2 separate regions of the Homo sapiens genome follow, and region 2 is linked to region 1. Evidence: promoter capture Hi-C in 16 types of primary human blood cells and fetal thymus (Javierre and others, 2016). All regions are on one chromosome and are shown on one strand. The core of a region is centred on a gene start or on the middle of the fragment in contact, and the rest is flanking DNA. Distances in the headings are between cores, read along the strand shown. Region 1 holds the start of LINC03030 (long intergenic non-protein coding RNA 3030). Region 2 overlaps PAK1 (p21 (RAC1) activated kinase 1).

Region 1 (5,368 bases), core at 1,820-4,319:
GAAACCCCAAGTCCAGTAATGTTGTGGCTCTTGCAGACTCAGAAGTAGTGCCTTAGTGGTCTTGGGTAAGATTTAGGAGAATTCCCTGGATTACCAGGTAGAGACTCTTGTTCTCATCCTTTACTTTCCCCCACAAATGAAGTCTCTCTCTCTCTGTACTGAACTTCCTGGAGCTGGGAGAGGGGTGACATAAGTTCCCCTGTGGTCACCACCACTGGGACTGTCCTGGGTCAGACCTGAAACAAACATAGCACTGGGTTTCACCCAAGGTCCACAGTGACCGTTGCTTGACTACCACTTAGGTTCACTCAAGACCCAAGAGATCTACAATCAGCAGGTGGCAAATACAGCAGGCTTGTGTCCTTCCTTTTAGGGTGGTAAGGTCCCCCTGGCCCTGGGTGTGTCCAAAGATGCCACTGGGAGCCAGAGTCTGGAGCCAGGAACCTTAGAAATCTTATCTACTGCTGCTGAGCTGGCATCCAAGCCACAAAACAAAGTCCTTCCCCCTCTTCCCTCCCCTTTCCACAAACAGGAGTCTCTCTTCATGGCTACTGCTGCCCTGAGCCCGTGGCAAGTACTGCCAGGCTACCACCAATGTTCACTCAACGTCCAAGGGCTCTTCAATCAGCTTGCGGTGAATGCTGTGAGGCCCGGGACTCACCCTTCAGGGAAAAGGACTCCCCTCTGGCCCAGGGCAGGTCCAGAAATGCCATCCATGAGCCAAGACCTGGAACTGGGGACACCAAGAGCCTGCTTGGTGCTCTATCCCACTGTGGCTGAGCTGGTACCCAAGCTATAAGACAAAATGCCCTTTACTCCTCCGTCTTCTTTCTTCAAGTAGCCACCACAGCTAGGAATGTGCTGGGTCACATCTAAAGGCAACACAGCTCTGAGTTTTACCCAAGGCCCAGGAGGAATAATGCCTGGTTACCACCGCTGATTATTCCTTCCCTTTAAGGCAGTTGGTTCCCTTCTGGCCCAGGGTGTGTCTTGAAATGTCATGTGATGGCTAGACCCTGGAATGGGGTCCTCAGGACTCTGTCTGGTGCCCTATCCTGCTGTGGCTGAGCAGGTATCCAAGCTGCAAGACAAAGTCCTCTTTACTCTCCCTTCTCTCCTCAGGTAGAGGGAAGGAGTCTCTCCCAGAGCTGTGAACTGCACTGCCTGAGGTTGGGAGAGGGATGATGCAAGCACTGCCTTGGCCTCCCTGGCTCCATGTACATGTTACATGTACCTGAGTACGAGTACCCTGGCTCCAAGCCCAGCACAGCACCAGGACTTGCCCAGCAATTGCAATCCTTAGGGCCTAGACTGCCTTTCAAGTTTACTTAGGACCCCAGAGCCCTTTACCAAATGGTGGTGGCTTGCCAGAGGTCAAGTTCTGACCACTGGGATGGGTAATATGCCTCTGGCTAGGGCTGATGCAAATGCTCCCTCCTTGGCCTCCAGCTGAGTTCTGCCTTGTGTTGTTTTCTGCTGTGACAGGGCAGCACTGAGCTCTAATGCAAAGTCCCATAATCACTGCACTCTCCCTCCCACAAGTGCACAGACTCTCTGTGCTATGCAGCCACAGCTAGGCGATCAGAGAAGGGTGCTGTAGACAATTTGAGACTATTTTTCCTGCCCTCTTCAGTGCCTCTTTCCTTAATGTGATGTTAAAACCAGGTACTATGATTACTCACCTGATTTTTGGTTGTAATGAAGGTGTTTTTTGTGTGAATAGTTGTTCGATTTGGTGTTCCTGCAGGGAGGACAATTTCTGGAGGCCTCTACTTGGCCATATTGCTCCCTAGTCTGTACTCCTTTTGCATTGAGTTTTACAGGATCCACCCATTTCCAAAGTTACTTAGGTCAGCAATTTTCTCCCATTTCCTTCATTGAGTTTTGTTCATAATACAGTTAGATTATTTTGTCACGTTCTTTATTTCATCTTGGGATCATCTATCTGAGCTCCTAAATGATTTTTTTAAATTTGCATACTTTAGGTTCTAAGGGTTCTGACAAATGCAAGGTGTCATGTATCATGTCACTATCATTATGGTATTACACAAAATAATGTCACCATCCTAAAATGTCCTGTGATTTACCTATTCAATCCTCCTTACTGAATTCCTACCAACTTGTTTTTCATCTCTGTAGTTTTACCTTTCATAATGTATATAAGTAGAATCACGGCCAGGCACGGTGGCTCACACCTGCAATACTAGCACTTTCGGAGGCTGAGGCGGGTGGATCACGAGGTCAAGAGATCGAGACAATACTGGCTAACATGGTGAAACGCCGTCTCTGCTAAAAATACAAAAGTTAGCCAGGCATGGTGGCAGGCCCCTGTAGTCCCAGCTACTCGGGAGCCTGAGGCAGGAGAACCGCTCGAACCCAGGAGGTGGAGGTTGCAGTGAGCCGAGATCATGCCACTGCACTCCAGCCTGGCAACAGAGCCAGACTCCGTCTCAAAAAAAAAAAAAAAAAAAGAATTATATAGTAAAAAGCCATCAGACTTGCTTCTTTGACTTACTGATATACATTCAACATTTATCCATGTCTTTGCTTTGCTTGATAGCTCATTTCTTTAAAAAAAAAAAAAAAACTGTGGTAAAATAAACATAACAATTTCCATTTTAACCATTTTCTTTTCTTTTTTTTTTTTTTGAGGCGGAGTCTTCCTCTGTTGCCAGGCTGGAGTGTAGTGGCACAGTCTCGGCTCACTGCAACCTCCACCTCCCAGGTTCAAGCAATTCCCCTGCCTCAGCCCCCCAAGTAGCTGGGACTACAGGAGGGTGCCACCGCGCCTGGCTAACTTATGTATTTTTAGTAGAGACAGAGTTTCACCATGTTGGCCAGGCTGGTCTCAATCTCCTGACTTCGTGATCCACCCACCTTAGCCTCCCAAAGTGCTGAGATTGAGGCAGAAATTTAAAAATAAATATGCATTCATTCACTCCAAGAAAAGTAACAGGCAAGGCAAGGGTTAAAAAGAAAAGAACAAGTTTTCCTCGGCCTAGCAAGCTCACTTCAAGGACAGTTATAAGATAATGCTGTTTGAGAAGCCAAGGCCAAAGGAATGGGCTGCAGACATCCCTCCCCTCCAGAACAAGGTTGAAGGAAAAAAAAAAAGAGAAAGACAAATTCCTTTACTGTTACTTCTTTCCCTGGCTTCTTAAGCATGATTATGTTTTACAAATGTCTGTATTTAGCCAGTTCTTGATTTTCTTTTGACACAGCTCCAAGGCCACCAGCTATGCAAGGCCACAAGTTATGCACTATATGATTAACTGCTTTTGTTTTACTTTTGTAAGTCCACTTATAAAAACCCTGCTCTGTCTTTGTTTAATGCTCAGGTTTTTGGATATAAATCCACTCAGCCAGTGCGTACCTAAAAATAAATATCTTCCTGTACTCTCATATTGGTCTCGCCATTCCTCAGTTTCCTGCAACATTTCTTGGCAAGCCAGCCAGGAGTGGAGATGACAGGCTTACTGTCTCCTTTGCCTATAGGGGGCTGGAGCCCTGGGCCAAGGGAGACCTGTGACCCCAGGTGCCGCCGGGAGAACTTCAGCCCAGAGGGGAAATCAGCTCTCCGTGACCCAGCACCCCTACCCAGCAGCGCAACAGATCCTGAGAGGAGCTACAGGATGATTCTAGAAACAGCGCACTTCAGGAATCATGGTAAGGTTTTGGGGCCCAAGGCAGGACCCATCCTGTAAGGACGGAAAGGGAGCCTGATCACCTCCCGGGGTATGCCTAATAGTCCGACCCAGAGGGACTGGGGGCGATGAGAGCGGCTGTCAATTTGGATGAAACTCTCACCCCAATCAACACAGGAAGCAAGAGTGGCTCACTAAGTTGGTTAGGAAAAGGAAACTGGAGGTGGCGAGAATGGCTTGCCACCCCAACTAAGGAAACTGGAGATGGTGATAGTGGCTCGTCACCCCAATTAGGTACACAGGAACTGGGAGTCGGTCCATCAGAGTTATGACTGAGTGTGGCTCCCGAATGGTTAACTGCTGTCTTAGAGTCAATTTGCTAGCCTCTTGTGTTTAGCAAGGTGGTGGCGGCTAATGCCTTAACACAGGGAGGCCATCCTAGCATCACAGAATCCAATTGTTTGGATCAGTATGTTACTGGGTGATGTTATGACCTTACAACTTGAGTCAGAACTCCTATAGCCATTCCTTTTTGTTCATGAACATATAGAAAGGCTTAGTTATATCTGGTAGTCCTAAGGCTAGGGCCTAAGTTAAAGCTTCCTTGATTTGTTGGAATGCATTTTCTGATTAGTCTCCCAAAGGAGGGTTTTTTTGTCCTCCTTTTGTGGCTTCATATAACGGCACAGCCATCAAGGAAAGATTTGGAATCCAGATGGGGCAAATTCCTGCTGCCCCTAAAAATTCTCTTATTTGGCATCGGGTGGTTGGGATTGGTAGTGCACAAACGTCTTGTTTTCACTCATAGCCAAGCCAGCATTCCCCGTGACTCACTACGAAACCTAGATATTTAACCTCTTTATGGCAAATTTAGGCTTTCTTTTTAGATACTTTGTAACCTGCTTTCCACAGGAGATGAAGGAGGTCCTGAGTTCTCTGATAATAGTCCTCTTGGGTTGGGGCTGCCAAAAGAAGGTCGCCCGTGTACTGTAACAAGCACAGTTATCATTTGGCGGGGTATAGGCCTTGAGGTCTGAAGCCAGTGTTTCCCCAAAGATTGTAGGAGAGTTTTTGAACCCTTGTGGGAGCCTAGTCCACATGAGTTGCATAGCTTCCTTGTCCCATTGAAATGCAAATATGGGCTAACTCGTGCTAAGCGAATATAAAAGAAAGCGTCCTTTAAGTCTAAGACTGTAAACCTAGTGGCACTTGTTGGAATAAGTACCATTAAAGTATATGGATTTGGTGCCACGGGATGGATGGTCACCATGGCCCGGTTTACGGCATGCAAATCTTGCACCGGTATCTACTCATCAGACCTTGGTCCCAGCAGCGGCTTTCATACTGGCAAAAGTGGAGTATTCCGGGGGACTGGCATCGGATTAAGATCCCATATTTATAGAGCCGTTCTAAATGTTTGCAGACACCCTGTACAGCCTTTTGGGGAACTGGGTACTGACGAACCCAGACCGGAGTTGCTCCCGGTTTCAGTTCAGCTACTACTGGTGAAAACTTACTTATAGACTTTACCGAACTGCCCCATGCTGGAGGCTATCAGTACATGCCAGTGTTTGTTTGCACCTTTTCAGGGTGGGTTGAAGCTTTCCCCATCAAAACAGAAAAAGCATGAGAAGTGACTAAAGTACTGTTAAGAGATATTATCCACAGGTTTAGACTGCCTTTAACTTTAGAGTCAGGCAATAAGTTGGCATTTGTAGCTGAAA
Region 2 (5,368 bases), core at 1,449-3,948, 230 kb before region 1:
TGTTTTCTTTTTTTATTTTCCTGGAAGTATTTTACCCTAGATTTTTGCTGGCTTGCTTTTATATATCATTCAGATGTTTACTCAAATCTATAGCAAAACCTTCCCTGACTGTCTTGTCTAAAATAGTACTTCCTCCATCACTACCTTCTTACTCTGTTTTATTTTCCTTATAGCACATAAATAAAGCAAGAAAGCAGAATAAAAATGATTGAAATATATGCCCAGATAAAAGAGATAAAGGAATATATTATAACGTGCTTAGGCAAGTGGTTATCTCTAAGACTGGAATTATGAGTGACTTTTTACAATATATACTTTCTAGTACTTTATAATTTTTCTACAATGGGTAGAATAAAGTTATCGTTAAAAAAAAAATCATGGTGATAGAAATGACAAACACAGGTACAATACAGGAATGATAGCAGTGTCAGCACTAATTTCTACCAATTCCACAGAGCCCAGGCTGAGATCTCACTGTACAGGGAACTTCAGGAGACAGGAATATGGAGGCAGCTTTCTACCCAAGACTGCTTGGCCCTTGGCCTTACCTCACGGCACACAGCTGCAATTTGGCCTTCATCCATGCAAGTTTCTGTCACCACATCTGTCAAGGAGCCTCCAGCCAAGTATTCCATAACAACCCACAGCTCATCTCCCACGAGGTAACTGCAGGAATACAGATAAAGGGTGAGAGAGAACAATCAGAGTACACTGAGCCATAGCACTGGGTTTCAAAGGCTAAGCATATACACAGAGTGAAACTACGTCTTAGCACAAAGTAAAGTAAAAGGTTCTTTACTTTGGGGAAAAGCAGAATCTGGGGAACAGAATCACTAACTTTGAATCTCTCAAGGATGCTCCTGGAGAAAACCAAGTATACATGTTCTGTGAAGCCCCAAAGGGCAGAACTAAGATCTCTAGCTTGAAGTGATACAATAAAATTATATTTCATCACAACACAAAGGAAGACATCCTAAAATTAGAAAGACTGACATGATTCCCACACCTCTAGAAGCATCCAAACATTTGACAAAGATAGGATTTAGAGTCCATGTTACCCAAAGAAGAGAGAGCTACTAAACCTCCCAGAGAGTCCTACCAGATCTGAGATCTATGAGACCAAGTATTGGGTCTTGTTCAAGACTCTATCCTCAGAGTCCAGCACAGCAGATGCCAATATTTACTAAATAAATCACTGAAAAAATAAAAGATAACTATAAATATTAAACGAAATAATGTTTATAGGAGCCCCTTAAAAGCTGCAAAGTGTTGTATACATAGTCATTATGCTGACAATTGACCTCTACTTTGAGTGTCTGTGGTTCAAGAATGGAATGAATTTAGCAAGGGCTTATGGAGCCAAAGCCTTCTGATAAGCCAAGACTACCATTTAGTAAGATATCCCCAGAGAGATTATGGGCTGACATGAGTTAGAAGTGATAGTTTCACTCAGGAGTTGGATCACTCAACCCTATTACACGATAAATAAAAAGGTCACTTAGCCTATTTGGTCAATGTTTCCTTACTATAGAATCAGACAAATAAAAACAAGGCGAGCCTAGAGCCCTAAAGTCTTCTGCCAGTCTTGGACAAAGAAGCTGGATTGGAAAAAAACATTTCTTGCATTGGCTTGAACTGTGTGGTATCATCTTATCTTCATCCTGATATTGGGAATACTGCTGGACAGATGTGGAGACTGTTGGAAGATTTTAACAAATGCAATCAAGCAAGGGTAAGATTTGAATCCTATTTTTTTGACTACTAATCGACAGCTCTTTCCATAAAACTCTGTGTTCTGATTTATAATTTTTTAATGTCCTGACTAATAAACATGACAGACTAAGTGTTTCTTCAACAATCTCTTTTGAGAGAGAAGACTATGGGGATTTGAACTGCTATGGTCTGAATGTTTGTGTCCCTCAAAATTTATATGTTGAAAATCTAATCACTAATGTTATTAGGAGGTGGGGCCTTTGGAAGGTGATTACATCATGAGGGTTCTGCCCATGAGTTCATCCATATGTGATGGAGTTCCCCTCTGGGACATCTCACAAAAACCACAGACCCTCATTTGCAACACCTTCACTGAATGCTCAGGTTAATGTCCTCTTCCATGACCTTACAGAGGTATTTTTTTTTTTTCTATACCAGACCAGGAACTATTTGAGGGCAAAGATAGCATTATTTACTTCTAATTTCCAGAGTAAAAGTCTCTGGGAATACTGGTAAAGATATGATTAATAAACAAATCTATAAGTCTCTTAATCCTACTCCCAGAACACAAATTCCTTCAATAACATCGTTTTATCATGTAGATGCATCCACTGATGGGGAACTCACCATTTTGTGAGACAGGCCATACCCTTACTGACAGCTTTCATTTTTCCATATCCTGAACCAAAATCTAATACCCCTGTCGCCTTCAGTAGTTTGCATGAGCTATATTCTCTGTATAATAAGTTCTGAAAGAGATGATAAGGTACTAACTTTCAGAGGATTCTTCAGAGCCAGTCAGGACCCACATTAAGGAGACACAGCCATCTCAAAGAAGAAGGCTTTATTCTTTATAGTGTTGGGAATGTCAAAGTTCAACTCTTTTCTTCTTTAAGGAAACTGAAGCTTACTAGTGTTTTAGATGCAGAACAAGAAGGCGCCCTTATGAAATCTACCAGTAACAGGAAGAGGTAGCTGGTCATGCAATATAAGAGGTAAAGAAATTAGAGTCCAAGATTTAGTCCAATTTCACCTCCACCTACGATGTCTCTGAACCCTGGGCAAGAAGCTTAACTTTTTTTTTTTTTCAGGTATCGGAGAAAAGAACATGATAAAATAGAAAGGTGCTAGATATTGGTGCTAGGAATATTCAAATTCAAAACACTGCTTTGCTGTTTTATGGCTTACTACTCTTGGACAAGTTATTAACGTCTATAAACCTCAGTTTCCTTGTCTGTAAAATATGGATAAAAAAACCCTACCTCACAATGAGATACTGTTCATGAAAGTGCTTGGTACAAAGTAAAGCACAATACAAATATTATATACAACCACTATTACTATTTTGCAAAAAAATTTTGATGGGCTGGAATGATGGGCTAAAATAATAAAAATGGGACTTAATGAAGATAGTGAAAAAGTTCCACATTTCCAGTTTAATGCAAGCTTACGTAAAAAAAAAAAAAAAAATCAGAAATTTTAGTTGACTGCAAACTTACTGGGAGTCAAAGCAGACAACCTAAAAGATAAAACAAGAATGAAATCATTAAGCTGTGTTGAGTTTAGAAAGAGTCCCACTCTCTCCATAGTGGTCAGATCTCAAATGAAACATCTAGTTCTGCACACTGCATTTTAAGAGAACATAAACAAACAACAAGTTATTCAGGAGGATGAGCAGAATAAGGAAAGATTTGGGATGTAAAATGAGTTAAGGACCTAGATGTTTGACTCAGGCAGATGGGTTGGTAGGTTTCCCTTAGGCAAAACAAACAGTACGAGGATCAACTGTTAGAAGCTACACGGTGGTAGAGTTCAGCCTAACACAGAAGGATTTCCCAGCAAAAAAGGTGTCCAGCATTACACAGGGTCACATACAGAGAGCTCAGCATCACAGAAGACTCATAAATGGAGGCAGTTCTGAGGGCTGGCACTGCCCTCTTCTCTAACAGCTTCACCACCAATCAGTCCCAAAGGCCCTTTCCCTCTGATGGGACCCACCACTCCATACCTGTCCAAGTAATTCACAATGTTTGGGTTCTTGTTTTCCCTCATGACCAGGATCTCATTAATAATCAGCTCTTTCTTGGGCTGCTGCTGAAGATTCATCTGCTTAATGGCCACCTGAAATCAAGAGTATATTCAATGTGCAACCATAGTCATTCCCATTTATTGAGCACCTGCTAAGTACCAGACCTTAAGTACTCAGGAAACAAAGATGAGTAAGATACAGTCTTAGCCCTCGAGTAATTCACAGTTTGTCTATGTAGACCAGTGGTCTTCAAAGTGAGGTCTCAAGCCAGCATCATCATCATCTGGGAGCTTGTTGGAAATAAAAACCTCGGGTCCCACCCCAAATCTACTAAATCAGAAGCTCTGTGATGTAAAAAGTCCTCCAGGTCACTGTGATACACATCAAAGTTTCAGAATCAAACTTTGGTGTAGAAAAATACTTTTAAAAAGTCACAACAGAAAAGAGATGCTATAACAGAGGCTCATACAAAATGCTAGCGAAACATAAAATACGGCAAAAGCCAAGAATGCTTTCAATCTGGCTAGGTATAGAGGCTTCATAAAGGGGGAAGTGACTTTCTGAACCTGGCGTAGAAAGATAAATCAGAGTTGATCAGGTTAAGAAAGAAGAGAAAAGGAGGATGAGAGCTCTATCTACAGAAATAAAAACAAATTTCCAGACAACATGAATATATGGTATACGTTAGTTTCTAAGGTACTTGGTATCAATTCCTTCTATGTGTAAGGTACTATTATAAGGTGTTCTCAAATTTGTTATTTCATTTAATCTTCAAAGACACCTTGTGTGCTAAATATTACTAATGATTCAACAGACGGGGAAACTGTGTTTCAGAGAGGATGTGACTTGCATACATAGCTATTCAATAGCAAAATCAGGATTAGAACCCTCAAAAGGGATGTCAAGTTATCCTGTACATGTAGCCAGATTAATTTTCCCCCACAGTACACATTTGATAACCTTGTTCAAAAACTTACATGGCTCCTGGTTGCCTAGAAATGCTTCTCAGTACAACATTCAAAGTTCTCATGATCTGGCCCCTACTTTACTTCCAACTCTATTCCTTCACAGAGGAGAGTGTTCATGGAGAACACTCCATGTTCTCCCTGGTATCTAGTCCCCCTTCCTTTGTTCAGAATCTTCTCTTCATCTGGAACAGCCTGTATCATTTCCATACATTCAAAAGCTACTTACTCTTTTTGTATCAGGCCAAAGGAAACTTCATTCTCCAAACCCAATATGCCTTTTCCCTTCTTTAAAGCCCTATAAGATCATATTTATCCCTCTCTTATGGAACTTACAACTTGCTATCATGTATAATGATTAGTGTGTATGTTTGTGTGTATTGAGAGGTTTGAGGGCTTGATTGAAAGCCCAGAACCCTCAATGCCAAACACAGGCCTTTACACACAGAGTTGGTGCTCAACAAATGTCTGTAGAAAGGAAGATGGCAAGAGAGAAATCAGTAGGTTGGAAAGTACTTTGTTTTTAAATAAAAACAAAAAAAAAATGGCAATGGGCTCCTCTATCCCATAGAAGTATACTTTAAATTATTTTCTAAGTGTTCATTCTCTAGAGATATTTTTCCTTTTTCCTGCTTAGTGGACAAGAACACGAACATCTAAC

What was found. The method cuts DNA at HindIII sites, captures the fragments that hold promoters and counts their contacts. A CHiCAGO score of 5 or more calls a contact.
Region 2: a fragment that was not itself captured here is called in contact with the fragment with the promoter of LINC03030 in region 1 in 1 of 17 cell types (M1 macrophages); the score reaches 6.1 in M1 macrophages.

The regions. Positions count from the first base shown.
Region 1 is chr11:77,568,020-77,573,387 of GRCh38, forward strand. It overlaps LINC03030 (long intergenic non-protein coding RNA 3030), which reads left to right and starts at 3,070. Exons shown (of 3, transcript NR_130930.1): 1 at 3,070-3,291; 2 at 3,496-3,666. The HindIII fragment of the contact is 9,547 bases long and covers 1-4,241 here.
Region 2 is chr11:77,340,098-77,345,465 of GRCh38, forward strand. PAK1 (p21 (RAC1) activated kinase 1) reads right to left here. Exons shown (of 15, transcript NM_002576.5): 10 at 3,722-3,834; 11 at 549-666. Among named protein-coding and RNA genes, the nearest start is that of GDPD4, 41 kb to the left of the region's middle. The HindIII fragment of the contact is 163 bases long and covers 2,618-2,780 here.